2 separate regions of the Homo sapiens genome follow, and region 2 is linked to region 1. The links are contacts of gene promoters, found by promoter capture Hi-C in human tissues and cell types (Jung and others, 2019). All regions are on one chromosome and are shown on one strand. Each heading gives the region's core, a stretch centred on a gene start or on the middle of the fragment in contact. The rest is flanking DNA. Distances are from core to core; before and after follow the strand shown. Region 1 has its middle 7.2 kb from the start of TM4SF4. Region 2 holds the start of HLTF (helicase like transcription factor).

Region 1 (3,720 bases), core at 1,140-3,639:
GGGCCCCTCTTTTTCTTCCTTTAGTCTCAGGGCTCTCCATGTGGTTTCTGCAACACTGTAGTTAGACTTTTACATGGTAACATAAGGCTCTGAGATATAAGTAGAAGCTGCCATTGTCTTAAGGCCTGGGCCAGAAAATGGGACAGGGTCACTTTGGCCAATTTTATTGGTCAGTGTAGTCAGAATGATCTCAAATTCAAGGGGAGGGAACATAGACCTCACCTCTTTATGAAAGAAATGTCAGAGAATTTCTGGCCAGCTTTAATTCACCACAGAGATAAAGGTAGATTTAAACCAAAGGAGTCTGATTATAGAGACCATCCTCTTAATCACCACAATATCCTGCTTCAGAAACCAAAGACTGGTACCTATTGTTTGCTCAACACAGAGAGGACAGCCTGCATGCATTTAGGTTTAAATCAAGGGCCTTTCTCTGCTACAGGGTAAATTATCTGGATAATTCCCACAATTGTGTATGGGTAGACACAGCCTGAGTTAGGATTTGCACTTGAGGAGCTAGCAGGCACCATCTACACCTTAAAAGTATCTCCAGTTGTTTTCAAAATTAGAATGAGAAATGCAAATCTCTTCCTGCCTCATGACTCAAAGGGGTGCTATATAGTCCTCTCTAATGCAGGTCTCAGTACAAAAGGGCACAGCTGTGACCTCTCAGAGAGGCATGAGCTCTGGCTGGTAAATCTGTCCCAGATGACCTGCCCAAATATTGATTTGTTTTAGCATTCTTTGATATCATCATGGTTATAGGTGAGAAGTTAACTTTCAACAGGAACTCACCCCTCACCCACTCTCCGTAAGGTAAAACATCACTAACTGCGGTTCCTCATCTTCTTTTTAAAATTAAACATGGGTTCAAAAAGAAACCAAGTTTAAAAATTCATGTTATGGCTTTAAAATGCAGAGAAATTTTAACACTGCATGTGTTTTTAATTTCTATAAATCTGACTTTATATAATTATGTATTATTCTTTTTGTCTGTGCCTTTGTACAAGTGTTTCCCCATTAGTTTTTAAAAATTATTTTTCCAAATAATTTTTGCTTATAAAAATTTACAAACATATTGGGAAATGATAACAACACCAAGACAGCAAGCACAATTTGGAAAAAAAAAAAAACATCAAAAACAACTGTCTTAAAATTTCATGTCAGTGAACTTTCATGGGGGTCAATTTTAGCTTTTGTATATTTATTCTTTTAGCACATTTTTTGAGCACTGATGTGTCAGGTACTGGAGACGTGTTAAATGGACAGAGCTTATAAGAAAAGGAAGATAGATATTAATAATGCTAATAACAGAAAACAGAGCAATTGTATGAAGTTGGTTCTATTTTAATCTGAATTTTACTCATAAGGAAACTGTATCCCAGAGAGATTAAGTAACTTTCCCAAGATCTCATCACTAGTAGCAGGAGACAGGATTTGATCTCAAGCAATCTAGTTTAAAAAAAAAAAGTCTGTGCTCTTAACCTCTACGCATGTTGCCTTTCATTAATCAAACCGTCTCAAAAACATATAATAACAAACTATAATTTGTTCCATGGACTAGAGAGAGCTATGAAAGCATATAGGGTAACAGGGGGATTCCAGTCAGGATAGGGAAGGCTCCCCTGAATAGGCTCCTTTGAAACTATTCATTGCCAAGAATAGAATTTTGATAAAATTACATTATGTAGTAATATTTACTGTAAGCTTGTTACATGCTAGGTATAACTTTAATGCTTTTCAATATTAACTCACAATGTCCCTCTGAGATGGGTGATAGTAACCCAGTAACCTCCCTCTTTGCTATATGGAAGGAAGTTGAGGCTCAGGGGGTAAAGAGTTTGCTCAAAACCACACAGCTAGAAAGCAAGTCAGCACTTGAACCCAAGCCCACACTCTTTAGACTGAGTGCGTGTCTTATGAAAGAAAAGAGCAATGCCAACGAGTTGGAAGGGACATGTTGTCCCACTGCTCAAAGATGCTCTCACTGACTCTAACTATGGATTTCTAGTTGCCAAAGGACTGAGCAAAGAGAGCAAAAATTATGGATAAGACCAAATTCTAAGGCGGTAAAAACATTAAAACTAAGTTTTAAAAGGAAGTAACTCAGTGTAGTAATTGGTAGGATGTGTGACTGCTCTAAGTGCACCTGAGCTACCCTGCCACTGACAGTGGTGGAGAGTCCAGAAGCAAGGTCAAATGATAAACTCCCTTGCTTAAAATTGAATAATCAGTTCCAATTCACAGAATGTCAAAGTTAGATAAACCTTTTCCCTTTTATAGGTTTTCAAGACTGAACTGCAATTGCAAAAATAATTCCTACTTGCAATAACTACTGTGATTAAACCTAAAGGGTAGAGAAATGCATCCAGGTCTTTGGTGGTCTTCACAGTGTGAGGCACAATGTAGAGGCCCAATTTATTTTTAAATTGACATTAGCTTTTCTGTGATTACCCATATGTATATCAAAGCTTCTAGCAAAGTTACAGACCAAGGCTTCTCAAATTTTAATGTGCATGTAAATCATCTGCAATCTTGTTAAAATACAGATTCTGATTTAGAAAGTCTGGGACAGGGCCTTAGATTTTGAATTTCTAACAAGCTTCAGGTGATTCTGGCAGTCGGAGGGCCATACATTGAGGCTGGACACATTTATTACTCTGCTTACTTTGGGGCAAATGGATGCCCTTCCTTAGACTTCCCACTGGAGCAGCTCATTGTGGGGTGTTTCAAGTAGTTGCTACTTGCTCTAACAAACTTTTGTTCTTGGGACAGTCACTTGCCAGCTTAGGGATTTCAGAAGGCTCTAGGGTCGGAAGAGACCCCACATCACTCTAGCTTGCTGTTTTCTGCATGCTTTATGGTGGTGGTTGTCAAAGTATGAATCGGTTAAAAGCTTGGGCTGCCTTTCTTTAGATGGGCCTGCTTCTCAACAGTCATCTTCCCCTCTTACTCACTCCCTACTGCATTCCGCAACTGTTATTCCAACCCTTTTCCACATTCCTCAAACCCTCCCTCCTCCCTCGCCCCAACTCCTTTGAGAGTTATAACCTCTCCTCCCACTTGCAGAAATGAAGGCCCAAGTTCCTTCATCCATCTTCCTTTCAGCCTTATAATATTTTTATATGAACACTTTCCTCTTTCATCCACATTTTATTCTTATCTTCATCCATTTTTATTATCTTTCCCCTGTCAGCAGATTAATTCCCTCACTGGTGCTTTTGTTCCCATCTCTAAACCTTCCCTGAGACTGTACCACCAATTATCATTATTCTGTCTTAAAGATTTAGTATCCTCTCTTACCTATCTCTTCATTCTCTTCACACAGTCTCAGTTCTCACTTTGCCTTTCCTAAATTTTTATTAAAGAAGTTAAAAAATACCCACTAGGTATAGAGAATTGTATAATGAACTCCCATTTACCCATCAAACAACCAGAAATAATCAAATTTTTCCATTTTTGAATTCTGTCTTGGAAACATCTTCCCTTGACCCTGCTCCTTTCTCCTCTTGACCAAGCCTGTCTCTCCAGTTCCCAGCCCCCTCTGATTTGTTAACCTCTTGCCATCTGGTTCCTGTCCCAGTCTCACTATGGCAAGTTCATCAGTGCCATTACCCGTTACTGAACCCCGTGGCCATGTCTCAGGCTTCATTCTCCTTTGACCTCCTTGCAGCGTTCCACTATTTCTGAGTCTCTTCCCACTGAGCAGCTGGAAGCACA
Region 2 (3,780 bases), core at 82-2,581, 380 kb after region 1:
TGTAATCCCAGCACTCTGGGAGGCCGAGGCGGGCGGATCACCTGAGGTCAGGAGTTCAAGACCAGCCTGGCCAATATGGTGAAACCCCGTCTCTACTAAAAATACAAAAATTAGCTGGGCGTGGTGGCGGGCTCCTGCAATCCCGGCTACTCCGGAGGCTGAGGCAGGAGAATCGCTTGAATCCGGGAGGCGGAGGTTGCAGTGAGCCAAGATCACCCCCATTGCACTCCAGCCTGGGGGACAGAGCAAGACTCCATCTCAATAAAAAAGAAAAAAAAACAAAAAAAAGAAAAAAGAAAAGCTGACCACCTAATATTATTGTGCTGACAGGCGTGTAACATGGACCTCTCTGTGACGCGCAAGTATTATCTGGCAGTTACATGGTGCCGCCTGTGCAGCTGGGCGCCACCACCAGCTTCCTGCCCTGTGCGATTAAAAGGCCAGCTTCGGGGACAGCAGCCTCCTCAACGCAAAGCGACCAGCCCTGCCAGGCGTCGGCTGCAGCTGGTCCAAGGTTGACGGTCCCAGGGCCGCATTCTCCTTCCGGTCACCTCAGACTCTGGAAAGAGAGCCATGGAGGGCCTCAGAGCGCCCCTCTGCAGTTCCTTGAGGAAAACAAGGGCCTCCCCCTCTTGGCTGGAGCAGCCAAGTGCCCACGGGGAAAATGGTCCCGTCCACCATTTCAGGCAAACGCCCCCATAGCTGTAATAAACATGTGATGGGTTTCCTGCACCAAGAAAGGAAAATTTTCCTTAAAAATAACAAAAAGAGGTGGGGAGGGGACTCTAAGTTCCATTTAAGATTTTCCAAACTCGTTGTGTCTCATGCATACGCTGAGGCTTAACATGAAAATTTGGAGCGAAAGTCCCCACGGTTCACCACAGGGAATGAAGTAAAGTATCTCGCCGGTAGCTCTAGGTCTCGTAAACCGTGGAGCTCCTTTAGTATAAGGCCCTATTATGTGCCACATTAGATGAGAAGAAAATAAGAGGAAGGATACGGTAGAGCCTTTAGAATGGGGTTCAGTCTTAGGACTCGTAGGATAAAGGAAGGTCGTTTCCCTCCGTTTGAGGCAGGGAATCAAACAAAACACCGGCACCGCAGGCACCGCAGTCGCACTCCTGGGGCCTCGTGGCTTTCCCGCGCGCCCGCCTTGGGGGCGGGGAAGAACCCGGATGGAACCACCCTTGCAGCCCGGACCCCCCGCCGTCTTTGAATGGCAGCGGGGCGGAGTTGCCCTCCCTTCTGTGCTCTGACTGGTTTGGCTCCGCACTCTCCTCTTCGTGATTGGGCTTTCCTAGTGCCAGTCACAGAGCGACGCTGGTCTCCCAGATTGTTGCAGAAGGAGACGGCGTCGACGTCTGACTGGACTCGCGGCGACTTACCTTTCAGTCGTGCGCTCCTGATCCGGCGCTCGGAATTTGTCCCCGGCTTCAGGGCTGCGGGGCCTGGAAGGAGGCGTATCGAGGCGGCTCGAAAACGATCCAGGGGAGCCGAGGCGCTCCTCTTGTCATCCCACTCAGCGCCATGTCCTGGATGTTCAAGAGGTGAAGGGGGCGGAGGGGGTGGGGCGCTCGGTCTAACGGCCTGGAGGCGTCCCCAAATGAACCTGACCTTCCCCGCGTTCCTCTGCGTTCCCTGGGCGATTTGTGCAGCTGTATTCGTTCTGTTGGTCGCATATGTGGCCGCCGGAGAAATAAATGCATTGTCTTCGCTGGCGAGTAGGGGCTCCTAGGGCGAGTCCCGTGTTAGGGACTTGGGAAATCTCTGTCACCGACTGTGGGGGGCCTGGGGCTTAAAGCATCTCGGCCAGTGCTTTATTTAACAAAACATCCATTAGATACCCACTGTGCGCCAGGCATTGTGCTCGGTGGAGGGCCGAGTAAGACAGTCCTTGTCCCCAAGTGGCTCACAGCTTATCTGTATGCACAGACGTGCAGATAAGTATTTGCAGAGGCGCTAGTAGAGATATGCGCCACTTGCAAGGAAAACGCATCGCAAATAAGCGACTGTTCTTAGGAGAATGGAAACTTTTTGCAATGCTCCAGTAGACTCCCCTTCACTTTTCATTGTCCAAATTGGTATTTATGGTCATTCCCGAAACAGTTACACCTAATGGGTTTGGGGTTATGCTTAAACCGGCGACGGAAGGCGGGTACGGGTGGCTTGGGGCCAATTTCCCACGGTGGCGTGGTTTGGATACCAGAATAGGTGTTCTGCTCGCAGGGAGTTACAGTGATGGATGCTGGATGTATTTTCTGGAAAATTATAAACAACTTCTGGTACATTAATAGTTGTATTTTTATAAGTCTTTTATATAGCTCAATCCCTATTGAAATTTTGGCATATGATTTCATTTTTTAAATTATTTTTTTGACATGGAGTCTCGCTCTGTCGTCCAGGCTGGAGTGCAGTGGCACAATCTCGGCTCGCTGCAACCTACGCCTCCCGGGTTCAAGTGATTCTCCTGCCTCAGCCTCCCGAGTAGCTGGGATTACATATGGGCGCCACCACGCCTGGCTAATTTTTGTATTTGTAGTAGACAGGGTTTCACAATGTTGGCCAGGTTGGTCTCAAATTCCTGACCTCAGGTGATCCACCTGCCTCTGCCTCCCAAAGTGCTGGGATTCCAGGCGTGAGCCACCGCATCCGGCCCATAATTGTAGTTACAGACATCATATACATATCAATTTAGATGATTTTCACTGGGAAAGAGGTTAGTGAACTCTGACTAGGCTTTTCATTTTGAATACCTAGGGGGCAGGTAGAAGAGCCAATATTGAAAACAGGTAGAGTTCCTAGAAGCCTTCTCCACTCACTGCAATTCCTGCTTTAACGAGAGTAACTATTAATCTTTACCGTGATTCCCATGTAAGATTTCATTTGCTGAAGTAAAGCATGAGAAAACTACTCATATGGTCTTTGGAAATACTTAAATATTATATTGTTTTTCTTTGCCTTTAAAAAAAAATAGGGATCCAGTTTGGAAGTACTTGCAGACTGTCCAGTATGGAGTTCATGGAAATTTTCCACGCCTCTCATATCCAACTTTCTTTCCACGTTTTGAATTCCAAGATGTTATCCCTCCAGATGACTTTCTAACTAGTGATGAAGAAGTAGATTCCGTTTTATTTGGAAGTTTGAGAGGTCATGTGGTTGGACTACGCTATTACACGGGAGTAGTGAGTATAATAGTAGATAATTAAATTTTGATTATATTTCTGGCGTTAACCTAGAAAATAAGAGAATTCGCAGGTGATGTGTGCGGTTAATCTTTATTTTACTTTAAGTTAGTTAAATATTTGTACGCAAAAAATAACAAATACCTTAAGTGACCCTCCCACCTCAGCCTCCCAGAGTGTTGGGATTACAGGAATGAGCCAATATGCTTGGCCTCAGTGCGTTATGTTTGGTTATTATGGGTAGCACCCCACCCCCACACCCCAGCGCCTTGTTCATGTCATCGATTTGTTGCAAAAAGGAGATCGTTTTGTGGAATCTTCTGGATTTTATTCTTTCATTTCTCCGTATGTTTCTTATGTTTAAGCTTCTCAATAGGGTGTCTGAAGCATGTTCGACAGGAGATTCCTTAGGAGTTTCATGTTCTGGATTTGTTTTTCTCCTGTATTTCCTTTACATTGGAACGTTTCAAATTGTTTTTTGATTGTCTGAAATGTGTTGTCTAGGAGATTCCTTAGGAAGAGACAATATTTCCTAAGTTTTTATATTTTCATACTTGTGGCATTTTATGAATGACAGTTTCATAAAATGAAAGTTATG

Evidence for each region. The method cuts DNA at HindIII sites, captures the fragments that hold promoters and counts their contacts. A contact is called where the count stands out against the background at its distance.
Region 2: the fragment with the promoter of HLTF here is called in contact with a fragment that was not itself captured in region 1 in 2 of the 25 tissues and cell types used here (H1 embryonic stem cells and mesendoderm cells).

Annotation. Positions count from the first base shown.
Region 1 is chr3:149,465,644-149,469,363 of GRCh38, reverse strand. No RefSeq gene overlaps it. Among named protein-coding and RNA genes, the nearest start is that of TM4SF4, 7.2 kb to the left of the region's middle. The HindIII fragment of the contact is 4,376 bases long and covers 202-3,720 here.
Region 2 is chr3:149,084,084-149,087,863 of GRCh38, reverse strand. HLTF (helicase like transcription factor) reads left to right here and starts at 1,331. Exons shown (of 25, transcript NM_003071.4): 1 at 1,331-1,547; 2 at 2,975-3,182. The coding sequence starts at 1,528. It overlaps HLTF-AS1 (HLTF antisense RNA 1), which reads right to left and starts at 1,532. Exons shown (of 3, transcript NR_046648.1): 1 at 1,386-1,532. RefSeq lists enhancers at 969-1,486, 1,372-1,581, 1,487-2,004. The HindIII fragment of the contact is 14,534 bases long and covers 1-3,780 here.